Regions from separate parts of the Homo sapiens genome. Here region 2 is linked to region 1. Evidence: promoter capture Hi-C in 16 types of primary human blood cells and fetal thymus (Javierre and others, 2016). All regions are on one chromosome and are shown on one strand. Each heading gives the region's core, a stretch centred on a gene start or on the middle of the fragment in contact. The rest is flanking DNA. Distances are from core to core; before and after follow the strand shown. Region 1 holds the start of GADD45G (growth arrest and DNA damage inducible gamma). Region 2 has its middle 140 kb from the start of MIR4290HG.

The links. The method cuts DNA at HindIII sites, captures the fragments that hold promoters and counts their contacts. A CHiCAGO score of 5 or more calls a contact.
Region 2: a fragment that was not itself captured here is called in contact with the fragment with the promoter of GADD45G in region 1 in 4 of 17 cell types (total B cells, naive CD4 T cells, naive B cells and 1 more); the score reaches 7.1 in total B cells.

Annotation. Positions count from the first base shown.
Region 1 is chr9:89,601,948-89,609,796 of GRCh38, forward strand. It overlaps GADD45G (growth arrest and DNA damage inducible gamma), which reads left to right and starts at 3,065. Exons shown (of 4, transcript NM_006705.4): 1 at 3,065-3,227; 2 at 3,485-3,586; 3 at 3,720-3,933; 4 at 4,022-4,608. The coding sequence starts at 3,175. The coding sequence ends at 4,132. LOC105376139 (a long non-coding RNA gene) reads right to left here and starts at 3,069. Exons shown (of 2, transcript XR_930105.3): 1 at 793-3,069. RefSeq lists an enhancer at 1,876-2,774 and a silencer at 2,385-2,434. The HindIII fragment of the contact is 4,421 bases long and covers 153-4,573 here.
Region 2 is chr9:90,172,693-90,180,541 of GRCh38, forward strand. No RefSeq gene overlaps it. Among named protein-coding and RNA genes, the nearest start is that of MIR4290HG, 140 kb to the left of the region's middle. RefSeq lists a silencer at 3,311-3,370. The HindIII fragment of the contact is 863 bases long and covers 3,091-3,953 here.

The DNA of each region.
Region 1 (7,849 bases), core at 1,815-4,314:
CCTGTGACCTGAAGCACAGAGCAGGCCAAGTCCCTTGCTGCATGCAATTTGGGAGAGCTGTGGCCACAAAGCCGTGTAGTGGGATATTCTGGATCCTCAAACTTCTAGTGGGCATTGCCCACTCCTCAACACAGGGGCATCCCAGGCCCAGAAGCTTCAGCATGTGTCTGAACTGAAGGGTGGTGGTGGGTCTGCTGGAAGGCCACCTTTGCCTGCAGACAAAATTGTTCTTCCCAATTGAGATGGGGGCTTTGGGGCCATTGGGACTGACATAACAAAGCAAAGTGAGGCTGTATCATATGTCAAAAAGGCAGTTTCCTGAAATTGAATACTTTAAAAATGTGAGCAGAGTAGAACAGCCCCAGGGGTCGTCAATCATCTCTTCTGGTCCAGGCTAGCTCAGGAGGGACTGGAAATGCACCCACCCCCAACTCGAAGCCGGGAGTGTTCATTAGTGGCCTTCCTCTCGGAGGAGGGGCTGAGGCTTCAGGCCTAGCCTTTGTTTTCTCTGGCCTGGCATGTAGGCAGATTTTTAGCGTCATAAATTGGAGAGGTGGGTGCTAGCATGTTAAGTAAATCTTATTTCCAGCATGTCCTGGGGACCTGGGACTAATACATTTTAAGAAATGTTTAATAGTAGGCCGGGTGCGGTTGCTCATGCCTGTAATCCCAGCACTTTGGGAGGCCGAGGTGGGTGGATCACGAGGTCAGGAGTTTGAGACCAGCCTGGCCAACATGGTGAAACTCTGTTTCTACTAAAAATACAAAAATTAGCCCGGCGTGGTGGCGCACCTGTAGTCCCAGCTACTCGGGAGGCTGAAGCAGAAGGATCGCTTGAACCCGGGAGGCGGAGGTTGCAGTGAGCCGAGATTGTGCCACCGCACTCCAGCCTGGGCAACCGAGCGAGACTCCGTCTCAAAAAAGAAAAGAAAAGAAAAGAAAAGTTTAATAGTTTTAAAAGAGTAATACCTATATTCCAATCACTTAAAATTAACATATTTTATCCAATCAAGGCATATCATCATTTTATACATCAAGAAAGAAAAGAAACTAGCGAACAAACGGGGCATAATGCCGCCTGGCTCCGCTTCCCCCTCCCCTCTCCCCCCGTCCTTAGGAGACACCTCTGGAGTTCAGAAATGCTAGGAGAGCAAGCTCTTCATTCTTAGAATCCAGGAAGGGCCGGGCTTTTGCAGCTCTCCTCTGCCAGGAAGCCGCTGGGGGGCGCAAGACGCCAGCTTCTCACCTTGGCAGAAGTGCCTGCCTGCAAGCGCAGAATGGAAACTTCCCCATAACAAATTCAGAAGTACCTTGTACATTCACCACCCACCTGAAGAAAGCCTGAATGAAAGGAACAAAGCCACGGCGTTGTTTACTTTCCCATTATCGCCCCAGTCTTGCGGCAGGGCCCGGGTTTCCATCCAATCCACCCGGCCCGCCACTGTCCTGGCCAGTCTCCAAGGCTTCACCCAAAAAAAGGAAGCAATGAGGTGTCCCCCAGCGCGCCTTTTCACGTAGCACAGAAGGTGCTCAGTGGGTGAATCCTCTGAAAGTGCCAGCGTGTATGGTCAAACGGCAGCAACCTCTAGCCTATTAAACTCTCCCAAGATCTCTTCCAGACTTATTCCATTGCCGGAAAAAAGGCTTTTTACATATGCGCATTTAAGTAATTAAGATATTTCAACATGGTATAAGACGTAGGGGCTCTTACTCCATCAGTACTGGATGGGAATTTCCTTTTGCCCTCTACTCCCCAGGGTAACTGCAGTCCCACCTGAATGCGTTTTGCAGCCCTTACTCGGGTTCTATTTATGCGCAGCTTGGACAGGGCTCACTGGGCCCGGCCGGGCAGCTCCGTGGCCGTCCCTCTCCACCGCCCTTCCCCCGCGCCAGGCCAATGCAAGGGTGTGTGTGTTGGGGGGAGGGGAGGACAAAAGGGGTTCAGGATCTTTTTAACCTGCCTGCAGATGGCGCCCCGGGAAAGATTCCGAGCTGCATTACCTAAGCTCCAGGGGCTGCAGCCGCGGGGTCCCGGCCACAGGGCGTCCAGCCGCGAAGACTGCACAGCAGCTCTCCGTCCTTCCCAACTCGCGCGGCTGTTCGGCACCCGTGCGAGGAACGGATGGAAGGGAATTACTTGTAGCAGGGCCAGTACTGGGGGCGTGCACTCAGGGACCACGGAGTGGCACTCAGCCTCGACCCCACGCGCCAGGCAGCCCGGCGACCCCCACGCGCGGCGGGGTCCTGCCCACCCCACCCGGCGGCAGGTGGACAGTGTTGCTATGAAGAGAAAGCCTCGATTGTCCCTACAGCAAACCGCCACACGCCAGACCTCTGCTATTGTGCGCCCTCCATAGAAATGCAAACGAGCGGCGTGCGCCGGCCGCAATCTGCTCGTCCCCGCCCGCCCCCGTCTCCCGCGCCCCGCCGCGCTCGGCCAAGGGCGGGGAGGTGGGGTGGGATCTTCCAGAGACGGCTCAATGTACACATTGAGTATGCCTGGCAGGCATCACCAGCGCGCTCGGGACGCTAGTGGTCAGCTGCAGGGGGCTGTGCCCACTGCCTTTTGCAAGCCTCTAACTGGCGCTACCTGTTTTTACCTTAATTTCTGGCTCCAATGCAACAGTCTCATAGACTTCAAATTAAAGAAAAGAAACAAATAGAAAGGTAGCAATACAAAATGCAAAAAAAAATCCCTTTGCTTCTATAAAGGTGCTTTTCGCAAATTGCAGCATCATATAAGCAAACAAGGTTTTTGTGGGTTGGGTTTTTTCTTTTTTTTTTTTTTTTACTTTTTCCTTTTAAGGACTTCAAAAAAAAAAAAAAGCCAGGCGAGATGAAATCTGCAGGCTCCAGTCTGCCTGGTAACACCCCAACAAAAGCGGCAGATTTGAGGCATTGTCATCCCCCGCACCCCTCCCCACGTGGCCTTCTGGCACGAGCCGCTGGCTCGCCGCCTCATTTACATCAGAAAGCGGGTGCCGGCCAATAGGCGCGCAGCCTCGCGCCAGCTGGCGGCGCCGCACCCACCAGCCTATATAAGGGCGCGCAGCGTAGTAGGGGCGCACTCGCTGGTGGTGGGCGCGCCGTGCTGAGCTCTGGCTGTCAGTGTGTTCGCCCGCGTCCCCTCCGCGCTCTCCGCTTGTGGATAACTAGCTGCTGGTTGATCGCACTATGACTCTGGAAGAAGTCCGCGGCCAGGACACAGTTCCGGAAAGCACAGCCAGGTGGGTTTCAGGGCGCTGAGAAAGCCGCTGGTCGGTCGGCGACCGTCAGGGTTTTCCAGGGTGGGAATCCGCGGGGTAGGAGGGGAGCGCGGGGGTCCGGGCGCCAGATCCCGGTTGGAGAGCCGGGGTGCAGGCGCTGAGCCGGGATTGGAGTGTGGTTGGAGTTGGGGAGCCAAGGGTGTGTGCCGGTGGCCGGGGCTGGGGTCTCCGCCGCGCCCTCCGGCCGGCTCCCGCTCACTGCGCTGGCTCCTCCGCAGGATGCAGGGTGCCGGGAAAGCGCTGCATGAGTTGCTGCTGTCGGCGCAGCGTCAGGGCTGCCTCACTGCCGGCGTCTACGAGTCAGCCAAAGTCTTGAACGTGTAAGTGTAGACGCGGCCCAGGCTGGGAGACAGGGGCGGGGGTGAATGGCGAGGAGACTGGCGGATGGGAGGGGTGGCGGCGGGAGAACTCGGCTAGCCGGTTCTGACCTAGGTCCCCGCCTTGCCCTCGCAGGGACCCCGACAATGTGACCTTCTGTGTGCTGGCTGCGGGTGAGGAGGACGAGGGCGACATCGCGCTGCAGATCCATTTTACGCTGATCCAGGCTTTCTGCTGCGAGAACGACATCGACATAGTGCGCGTGGGCGATGTGCAGCGGCTGGCGGCTATCGTGGGCGCCGGCGAGGAGGCGGGTGCGCCGGGCGACCTGCACTGCATCCTCATTTCGGTGAGTACAGTCCCGTCCTGTCCCCGCCCCAGTGTCGTTCCCGCCTCGGCCCGCGGCCAGCCAGGCTGACCCTGCTCTCTCTCCGCAGAACCCCAACGAGGACGCCTGGAAGGATCCCGCCTTGGAGAAGCTCAGCCTGTTTTGCGAGGAGAGCCGCAGCGTTAACGACTGGGTGCCCAGCATCACCCTCCCCGAGTGACAGCCCGGCGGGGACCTTGGTCTGATCGACGTGGTGACGCCCCGGGGCGCCTAGAGCGCGGCTGGCTCTGTGGAGGGGCCCTCCGAGGGTGCCCGAGTGCGGCGTGGAGACTGGCAGGCGGGGGGGGCGCCTGGAGAGCGAGGAGGCGCGGCCTCCCGAGGAGGGGCCCGGTGGCGGCAGGGCCAGGCTGGTCCGAGCTGAGGACTCTGCAAGTGTCTGGAGCGGCTGCTCGCCCAGGAAGGCCTAGGCTAGGACGTTGGCCTCAGGGCCAGGAAGGACAGACTGGCCGGGCAGGCGTGACTCAGCAGCCTGCGCTCGGCAGGAAGGAGCGGCGCCCTGGACTTGGTACAGTTGCAGGAGCGTGAAGGACTTAGCCGACTGCGCTGCTTTTTCAAAACGGATCCGGGCAATGCTTCGTTTTCTAAAGGATGCTGCTGTTGAAGCTTTGAATTTTACAATAAACTTTTTGAAACAAACTTATGCTCTTTATTGAGGGTAGGGGATCTTTGTGTCGGGGGAGGTGGCGTGCAGGGTTTCAGAGGATTGCTGGAACTCCGTGGAACTGATGGCACCTGTTCCGTCTTCCTGTCGGGCAAGAATGACAGGCTCCTCCCCTCTGGCAGAGGGAGGGCATGCTGCCCAGTGCTAGGGTAGAACTTGAGCCTGGCTCCTACTTTTCTCCTTTTAGGAAGATTTTAAACTTGCAAAACAGGAGCATACTTGAGATAAGACAGTGCAGCAGCTGAAGTCTTGCCTTCCAAGGCGATAACAGTGACCTGTGCCTCCCCTCCCCCTCCTCGGCCCTCCTCCCCCTCCCTCCTACAGCTGCTTATCTGAACAGCTTGCAGGAGGCCTCAGGCTTTCCTGCACAATGAGCATTGCCTTCTGCAGGCCCTGCCCTTTGTGGTCCCTGAGGATGGTGGCAGACTGCTCCTGCTCTTGGGGACTTTTTCCTCTTAAATGCTCTGACACAAAGCAATGCTACAAAGGTACTAATACCAAATATGACATTGATGACTGCATTTAAGTATGAGTCATTACTTTGTCATGGCTGTGATAGAACTTGGAAGATCTGAGAAAAAATTGGAAGGCAGCATCTATATAAATAGGCATGAGCAATTCTGAGGGGGCCTGGCATCTGCTATCTACTATTTTCAGTGTTCTCTGCCCACATCAGAGTTACGAGGATTGCTGCTATTCACAATTCCGTTTAAAGACTCATAGGAAAAAAAAATTAAATATTTTAAGCCAAGACTTTCTTTAAAAAGGAACTAGGGGGAAATGTCCTGATCGAATCAATCTTTTTTATGAGACCAATATGCCTTGAGTTCGTTCTGTGTCTAACTAGCTGCTTTCAGCAGGGGAAATACATGTGGGACCCTTGTGCTGTCAGCTAGACTGCCAAGCAGGCTGAGCCTTCTGGGCAAAGGAGGCATGATGTGCTGTCTTCAGTGCTTGGGGTGGCTGATTTACCTCATTGAGTGCCACGTCCTAAAATTCCGTCCAAATTACGGGAGGATTCTTGAGGCAACAGGAAAACTGTACTGAATTACTCTTCTTGTAATGAAAGCGTCCTTGTTTTCCATTTATCAGCTCCTAAAAACATCTACTCCTCAATGGGACAGAAGCCTAGATAAAAAATTCAGTTGTATTTGTGCCCAATTTTCATTACTATTTTACCTATTTGCTGCTTGAAATCTTAAGGTTTTCTTATTGAGGTAGTCTTGGGGTGGGCCTGTCTACCAGTCTGCGTTCCAGCAAAATGACCAGAACATGCTATTGTAAACACAAAGTGGACTTGATTACTTTAAAATGAACCCTTAAATGAGTAAATTCAGCAGAACATTGCACAGAGCAGGTAGGCAGACCCTCCTGTTGGCCAAGCGACACTTGTAGAACATGAGGTTGTAAGCCCTTGGTTTTTTGATTAGAGCTTGCTATGAGGCCACCTGTTGGAACCCCAAAGGGCTAGGAGAATTTTCAGGTGAATAAATGCATGATGGGACACAGTGCCATGCCCAAAAGTTGTGCTAAACTTTTTCTTTTTTTTTTTTTTTGATGAACAGGTGTTTAATGCTATTAACATGAACTAACTCAGAGGGCAGATAATAAAATGTCCAGTGTTTATAAACACATAATTGCATTTAGTACTTCCAACAACCCTATATGATAATGCATATATAAGCCCTCAGTGCGTGGTAATTATCACTACATATGTGTTGGGGGTGACCCATAAAGACGAGCACAATGCCTGGCATCTAGAAAGCACTGAATGAATGTTAATGACAATAATACTTAAAAGCTAACGAAGACATTTGTCCCAGACCACAGAACTCCAAGTGAACTAGTGGGTTTTGGACTAGCCGTCTGGTTTCAGGACCAACACGTTGCTGCCATGAACTTCCGGGTGCTGGAGCACTTGCGGCAGGCTTATTTTGGAAAGAAGGCTATTTTCATTAGATAACTTTCTACCTTTATAAGTTATATGTATTCATTGCAGAAAAATTGTAAAATACATCAACATTAAAGAAATAAGTAAAAGTGCCTGTAACTGACCATCAGCAAGTTTTGATGTATTAATATTTCCTTCTGAACTTCTATTTTTCCTCTTACATATTCTGTAACACACACAAGCACACCCAACAGTTTTTAAGCTGCATTTGGCTTAGTCTGCATTGGATTTAGTTACCGTCTCCTTTTCCTTAACATGCTATTACAGCTCCCATATATCCACATGACCTTGGGACAGGGCTTGTCTCTGCTTTAGCAGGCTCCAGTGCCTGGGTGAAAATACACATTCCAGCCTGGGATCCAGCTGGGGCATCTTCTTTACCTTGCAGCCCTCACTGAACTGGAAACATGACTGCCGTTTGCAGGATTTTAGGTATCACATGTCTAAAACAAACCTTTGCCACCCCCAGAGCAATGAAAGTAAAGCATTCTTATTTTTAATTTTTTTAAGTTTTGCATATGGTCACTGTAAAAATTGGCACTGGCAAAGCACCTGTTGTGAAGATGAAATGGATACAGAATGACAACAGGAGCAGCTTGGAGAGTCAGGCATTCCTTGCCCACACCCAGCATTGCCCACATAGGGAGCTGAGGTCTCCTTGTTCCTCTCCTGGCAAGATGATAGGACAAAATGATCTCTGAGATTTATTTTATTTTTAAGGGCTCTAATTCTCTGTGTTATATATTTTATTAAACCATTAGCCTCAGAAGTACAATGCGTATTGGTTTTGAAGCCACTTCAGAAAAAATAAAAAATGAATTTTTCAGAGGAAAAGCAAGGATGTTGGCAAACAAACCAAGGCGTGTAGGGTCAGCTCAGTAAACAGATACCCAATTTTGCTTTTTTGAGATTCTTGTGTTTTTCAGTTGCTTTTCTAAGATGCCAACCCCTGTACTCCTCATTTGAGTATGCCCTCCAAAATGTCAAAAGTGTATTGTCTTTCCACGGTCACAAAGGAGAGACTTTATGACTTAACTGGGGGCAATGAGACATGATCCTGCGTGGTGCACCTGAGCTGCTGCAAGCGGCCGCCAGAGGAGTGGCTAAGTTCGTGTGCAGGGCCAGCTGGAAGCCTCGGGGTGCCTGGAATGACTACACGGCTTTGAATTCTGTCCTAGCGCAAACTTATATTTGGTTTTTAGGTCTAGCTCAAACTTCCCTTTATCAACTAGAATAAAATTGCCAAATAATTTCACTCCCTTCAT
Region 2 (7,849 bases), core at 2,272-4,771, 570 kb after region 1:
GGGTTAGACATCCATTGATAAATAAAACTATAGAGCACTCCTTTTAGTCGGACCTTCGATTTTACAAAAAGGCCAAATAATAACATGATTAACATATTTAGTCTAATGACCTAGATATGTTATCCTCAGGTCATGAATATTTTTTAAAAAATGAAAATCTTTAAAAATTTTTTCTGTCTGTGAATGAAAAGGGCGTTTGTTTAACTAAGAAGAAACATTTATTCCTGATTTCTTGCCCTAATATTATGCACTCAGATATTGGATTAAAATGGTTGTGTAGAAGATGGATCCTTGACAAGAGCTATCCAGGCTTCAAAGTAGCCTAGATAAATGTAGCGTTTAGGAGCACAGATCAGGCCTGATGTTTCCACTGGAAGATGATTCTCTGAAGGGCCTACTTAGTTGTTCCAGATGGCTGATCAATCACACAGGTTTTGGTTAATTTGATATGTTCAATCTTGGCCAGTTGCCTTTAAGACTTTCATAGAGAAATACTTTCAAAGGAGAAAAGAAACATCTAAAATCTGATTATAAAAAGCAAACATGAAATTCAAAGAAGTATGTAGGGGAGATTCAACTTTTTTTTTTTTTCTCAGAGAAGTCTCAGAACACAGAGCCTGCCTTATAAAACTTTAGGTACTAGATCCAGGAGAAAATAAGTTGAACTGTCCTGCAGCATAAACGGTTTTCTTTGCCACTTTACTTTTCATTTCATTCATGGATGTGAAAATTCCTTTAGAAACTTGTTCTAATCAGAACTTTAGAGAATAATGTGATGTAGAATATGGTATGAAGAGAAGCCAGTGTATTCTCGTTTTTTTTGTTTTTGTTTTTGAGGCAGAGTCTCACTCTGTCGCCCAGGCTGGAGTGCAGTGGCACCATCTCATCTCACTGCAACCTCTGCCTCCCAGGTTCAAGCGATTCTCCTGCCTCAGCCTCCCAAGTAACTGGGATTACGGGTGCGTGCCACGACGCCCAGCTAATTTTTTTTGTATTTTTAGTAGAGACAGGGTTTCGCCATCTTGGTCAGGCTGGTCTTGAACTCCTTACCTCAGGTGATTCACCCACCTCTGCCTCCCAAAGTGCTGGGTTTGCAGGTGTGAGCCACTGCACCCGGCCGCCAGTGTATCCTTATTGCTATGTAGAAGATTCATCGTGGCCATGAAGCTGGCCTCCAGAGTCCTCCCAGAGTTCCTTGCTTAGTGGGTGGTGGAGTGGGCAGAGAGGTGGGCTGGCTGTATTCAGACATCTGTTCTCTGCAAGTTTTTGATGCACACACTTTTAAGTGAGGTTTGCAGAGATGGTCATTTAATTCCTGGAAGAAATGGGATAGTATATGCATATCCTTTGTCATTTCTACGGACTAGAGCTTCTGTCCAGAGGTGTGTTTACCGCTGTGCATAGAGGAACTGGAGCTGATGGCTGTCAAGATGCAGGCACTTCCAGGCAGTTGCCAGCACCACCTCCTACTTCCTTCTTTTTTTTTTCTTTTTCTTTTTTTTTTTTTTTGAGACAGAGTCTTGGTCTGTTGCCCAGGCTGGAGTGCAGTGGCATGGTCTCGGCTCACTGCAACTTCTGCCTCCTGGGTTCAAGCAATTCTCCTGCCTTAGCCTCCTGAGTAGCTAGGGTTACAGGCATGCGCCACCACACCCGGCTAATTTTTGTATTTTTAGTAGAGACGGAGTTTCGCCGTGTTGGCCAGGCTGGTCTTGAACTCCTCACCTCAGGTGATCTGCCCACCTCGGCCTCCCAAAGTGCTGCGATTACAAGTGTGAGCCACTGCACCCGGCCTCCACCTCCTACTTCCTTCTGAAGGTGCTCGCCAACCAAAGAGAAACTAGGCAGAGCCTGTACTCACTTGTCAGCCTGATGGCATGAGGTGTCACTTTTATGGCTCTCGGTTTCAGGATTGCTGATAGTCCACACTGGGTGAACGTATCAGGGGTGTGTGGATGGATAAAAAGTCAGGATACCTGAAATATGCTACAGATGTAAAAATCACTTCATCAGGTACATAACTTCCTTCTAATTTATTTTTCTATTACCGACTCATGCTAGACAGCTGCTAAAGTTAATGCGATTTTTATTAAAGCAAAGTCTTCATTAGAATTTCTCTCCTTGGAGACTGGGCACGGTGGCTCATGCCTGTAATCCCAGCATGTTGGAAGGCCAAGGTGGGCAGGTCACGAGGTCAGGAGATCGAGACCATCCTGGCTAACACGGTGAAACCCCGTCTCTACTAAAAATACAAAAAAAAATTAGCTGGGCATGGTGGCAGGTGCCTGTAGACCCCACTACTTGGGAGGCTGAGGCAGGAGAATGGTGTGGACCCGGCAGCTGGAGCTTGCAGTGAGCCGAGATCCTGCCACTGCATGCCAGCCTGGGCAACAGAGCGAGACTATGTCTCAAAAAAAAAAAAAAAAAAAAAAGAATTTCTCTCTTTGGATTATCACTATAGGATGGGCCACCTCTCCCACAGTGGGAAGCTCCTTTCCTCTCCTTGCTGCTGTCTCTCTCTGCTGACCCTGGCAGTGTCCCCAACTCAGCTCCAGCTCCTTCCACATGCCCTGTTTTTTCTAACCACAAGTAGGAGGATGGGGCAGCAAACTTCCCACCGCTCTGCATTGCTTATTCAATGATACCTACACTAATCATCCCTCAATCTTACTTCAACCATCTGCCCTTGGGTTGGGGGATGGGGTTGCTGTGCCTGAAGGTTGGGGTTGGATGAGCCTTGGAAGGTAGGGATTGCGTGTATCTGGAGGGTGGGAGTTGGGAGTATCTGGGGGTTGGGGAGATGGGTGGGTCTGGTGGGTAGGGGCGGATGAGTGTGGGTGGGTAAACAGTGCAGAGACTCTGGGCTCAGAATCCCAGGCTTAGAAAGGAAAGAAACCTTGCCTTGAGTGGGGGAAATACTCCTCAGGACCAGTCAGGCTTGTGGCTGAAGCTCTTCTGGAATGTGAGGCCTCATTGGCAAGAGATTAAGACTGTGTTCTCTCTCTCTTAACAATTTTTCTGCTTGTATTCTGCCTCCACCTTCCCGCTCTATTCTCTTTCCAGGATTTTAAGGACAAACGCAGAGTGTGTATAAGCTTAATTCTCCAATGAGATATTAAAATACGATTTATAAATTGGGTGCAACCAATAGTTTGTTGCCTTGGAGATGCTCCCATGAAAATAAATAGAACCTGAAACCATCAGTATAGCTTGGCTTTTCTTTTTAGAAAAATGTAACTCAAAATCCAGATCATGTAGCTGGGGGCAGATTCTGCTGTTAGTCTCCTAAGATTGGCTTGGGGGTTTTCTGGTCATGTGGTGGGTGGTGAATGTGGGCGTCCCTTGCAGGTGAGGAGGATGTGAGAAGCTGTTCTCTCTAGAGGTTGCATTGGTCCCATGAGCAGTTATGAGTGCTGGTCTGCTTTGCCACAGCTACCTGCTCATTCTCTGGCACAGTCGTGTGTGATGTGTATTCAGCGTATGTTCTGTTGTTGAGGCCAGTGTGGGCTGGTTCGGGGAAGCACCCAGGAATGGGACTGAACTCCTGCATTTGACTAAGTGCAATCTTGTCAGTCTTGTGGAAAACCCAAGCACAGGTAACTTATTTGAAGTTTTGTTCACATAAAAAGAATCTGCAATGTTTTCTGTTTATATCTTATTTGACTTAGTTTATTTTGATTTAATAAACTGAGCTATAATTAAATGTAAAACATTTATGAGTTACAAAAGTATATGGTATGCTCACCTTTCTTCAAAGAAAGGCTATTCAAAAAACAAACGTATTATTTTTTATGTGTGAGGAAAGTAGCTTCATCTGTCTTAGTCCGTTTGTGTTGCCATAAAGGGGTATCTGAGGCTGGGTAATTTACAAAGAAAAGAGGTTTATTTGGCTTACAGTTGTGTAAGCTGTACAAGGAGCATGGCACTGGCATCTACTTCTGTTGAGAGCTTCAGGAAGCTTCTACTCATGGTGAAAGGTGAAGAGGAGCCAGCGTGCAGATCACATGAAAGAAAAGGCAAGAGGGGATGGTGGGAGGTGTCAGGCTCTTTTTAACCATCAGCTCTTGCAAGAGCGAATACAGCAAGAATCATTACCATGAGGATGGCACCAAGCCATTCATGAGGGATCCAGCCCATGACCCAAACACTTCTCAGTAGGTCCCACCTGCAACATTGGGAATATGTGTCAACATGAGACTTGGCCAAATCAAACAAACCATATTTAAACCATAGCATCATCTTACCAGCCACCCTGCACTTAATACAACTGTCGAATTGGACATTATGAATAATTGGAACACACATCTGCTTCTTCCTACTAGCAAGCCTTTATGTACACCATCCCAGCAGGCCTTTTGCTCCCGCCTCTACTCCACTTGTTTGAATACCATGAAAGGCCCAGCCCATCCCTGTCTCTTTTGTGGAGCCTTCCTGACTTCCTTTGTCACAGAGGTGCTCTCTTTGTCTTGTATTGTTCAAAGCCTATGTTCTGTCCATGAACACACCCTGCCTGCAATTATATGGTGTGCTTTAAGAGATCTTAGACAGACATTCCTGGAGAAGTGCATTTTGTTCACATGTTGATCCTGCATAGTGAATAACATATGAATATACTCCATAATTTGTGGTGGTAGTGATGGTGGTGGTGGAGAGAATGAACCCAAAACTCTTACGAAGCCATTTTTTGACATATCTACCATACATTGAAGAATACTGATGTTGATGACATTCCCAGCTGGAGGCCAGAAACGAGCTTCCCTTGGTTCAGTAAAAAAATAGGATAATAATCTCTGGGTAGGATTTTCAAATTTAAAAAGGAATTTCCTGTTATTTTAACCAGTAGCTGGAATATACATTATCATCCTTGTTTGACTGGAGACGCAACTGCAGCACAATGTCAAATAGTGGGTTAGATAGGAAGCTGAGTGCAACATCCACACAGAGCTCAGTGGTTTGCAAACTTATGTGCAACCGACAGTCACCCCAAGCACAGCCCTGGAGAGTTGCATCCAGTTAGTCAAGGATGAGATCCTAGGAATTCGCATCTGCAATGAGCTTCTCAGTTGTTTCTGATTATAGCTGAAGAGCATTTGGAGACACTCAGCAGTGGGGGCTCTTTCTGCTATCCTGTTGGGACCTCCTCCTAGGACTACATCAGTTCTTTGTGGTGAGCGATGCAAAGTAGGCCTCCAGAGCATACCCCTTCCCTCAGTCAAGAGTGCTCAGTCTTTGTGGACAAAAGAACACCTACAAGCCGTCAGCCCAGGCTGGCCATCTGGGAGAGAGAGGGCTGAACACTACCGTATATGTTTGGAAATCTTCCCTGTGCATGTGCCTTGCCCATTAAATCTTCAGTCTCCTAAAATGCTGCCCTGCTTCCCTCACCTTGGTTCCGATACTTCCTGATCCATGACTTAAAGCATTTCTTTGATTTGTTCCTCTTATATATCTAGATCTCTGATATCTGATGCTCCTAACACATATACCAGAAACCCAGAATTAGGATTCATACACTTGCCGTCATAAAGGCATGGCTCTGGCCATCTGAACCAATCTCCTCTCACCTCAGACACACCCATGCATCTCACAGGCCTTCCTCACTCAGCACCCTGTCCAAATTTACCAACACAAAAACGTGCTTCCATTTTGGGTTGTCATGACTATGTCATTAGAACTTTATGATTGCAAAACAGATATGCAAATAAGTGCAAATTGAACACACCATCTGCTAAATCTCTAGGGTTCTCATCATTACATAAATGACCAAGGTATTGACTCAAAAAGAAAAGATGCCTGTCAGCCTCCTGGAATACTCCTTAGCAGAAACTTTTGCCATCAAGAAGATGTAGAACAAAATCCATGCCCCAAGGGAAAGTAATATAACCATAGATACTTAGGGAAGCAGCAGAAAATCTCATTACTTAAAGGTTGATTTTTATCTAATGATGCAAGTGAACAGTAGCAGGATTCCAAGGGGAGGCAGGATAAGCAGGGAGGCTCATAGTTTTGTTGATTCTTATATATATTTTTTCGTATATAACTAGCTATGTTTTTGTTTATTTTCTAGTACTTATATACATTCTCTCAAAGCTGCTGACAAACAGCACACCTGTATGGCAGGCAAAACTACACAATCTCTATGAGTCTTTATATTGGCTTTGTTGACTGGTAATGGATAACATTTCAACTACCGGCCATCTCCAAACAGCAAATGCCAAATATTCAGTGGCATATGCTACGTAGCTATCAGGGGAGGTAAGCGCTCAGCACACCTATAAGCCATTCCAGAAGCTCCTTCAGAACCATTCAGTGAGCTCCCTGGAAAAGTTAACCTTACTTTTTATCTACATGGATGCCATACAACTTGCTTTTTACATCAGGGAAAAAAGGAGAGAGTCAAAAAGCATAACTGGCAAAGTACCAGTCCAGACTCATGAAATGCAGCCAATCTCTAATATATTGAAGTTGTAACATCAATAAAATACGACATCCTGGCAATCTGTGGTGGGTGATGCAAATCCACCCATGAGCAAGTCTCTAGGGAAAAGGTTGGTCATAGTGGCTTGGGCTTGTAATCCCAGCTATTCAGGAGGCTGAGGCAGGAGGATTGCTTGAGGCCAGGAGTTCAAGACTAGCCTGGGCCAAACAGTGAAACCCTATCTCTACAAAAAAATCAAAAAGCTTTTTTAAAAAATATAGGCTGCTGTGAGCTATGGCCACATCATTGTTTTCAAGCCTGGGCAACAGAGGGAGAACCTGTCTATAAAAATAGAAAGAGAGATAGATAGATAGATAGATAGATAGATAGATAGATAGATAGATAGATAAAAATAATTAGAGAACAGGAAATAGCTATGGTTTTCTGTTTGATTCAGAGTTTCACCTCTTTATAAAATGCTTAGCTACATTTTCCTGTGTCCTCATATTTCAGTGCACCTGCCTCAATCATTTTATTAAAATGCTTTTATGTCTAACTAAACATCCCCCTTTGTTTACTATTCTCCTTCCTTTATTGCAACCAGCACAGACAGAGATCTAGCATTGATATCCGCCTGCCAAGTAATTTAAATGTGCAATTTATAAATGGGTGCTTTTTACATTCAAAGGCCTAATTGGCAATGAGAACTGCTGGAAATCATAAAAGAAAAGACTCATTGGTTGTGCTGTAATATTACTGGAATTGGAGGTGGGAGTTTTAAATCTTTATGGAAGCAAAAGAACTATCCTTTCTATGATAACTTAAAGCCCTCAGGCATTCTCTTTTTCACAAAGATGTAGATACTGAAGTCTGAAGATAATTGTAGTGAAGCTCTTTCTCAATGTTTCTTTATCAAAGCTTATATAAATTGTACAAAGTGTCCTACAATTTTGGTTTATCTTTTACTATTTTCCAAATGGCACTGCATAGAAATAATATACTAATGCTCCAAAGAAACTCATTTGATTGCCAAGTATTTTATTTTAATTTTCTAATAACTCTAGCAGAATTCGTGTGGTTATGCTATTGGTGAATAAAACAGAATCAGTATTGGCAGACAACTTTATGGTAAATTATACAGAATAATGTGTAAGTGACATACTTTAATTAGGAAATAGTTATACACAAAAGAAACAGGAGATAGTTTTAAGTGCTAATATAATTTTTTTATCCACTTACTCTCTTTTGCCCCATAACCCTGAAACTGATCCAATTTTCCCATAGAACTTATGTTTACTATTTCTTTTGAATAAACATAGAAATTGACCCTCCCAGTCTTAAATCTTTAGAAAGTTACATTTGTCTTATATGGGTTCCTTTCTGAGGAAACCAACAGTCAGGCCTCCCAGATAGTATCGTGGAACTAAAACTCAC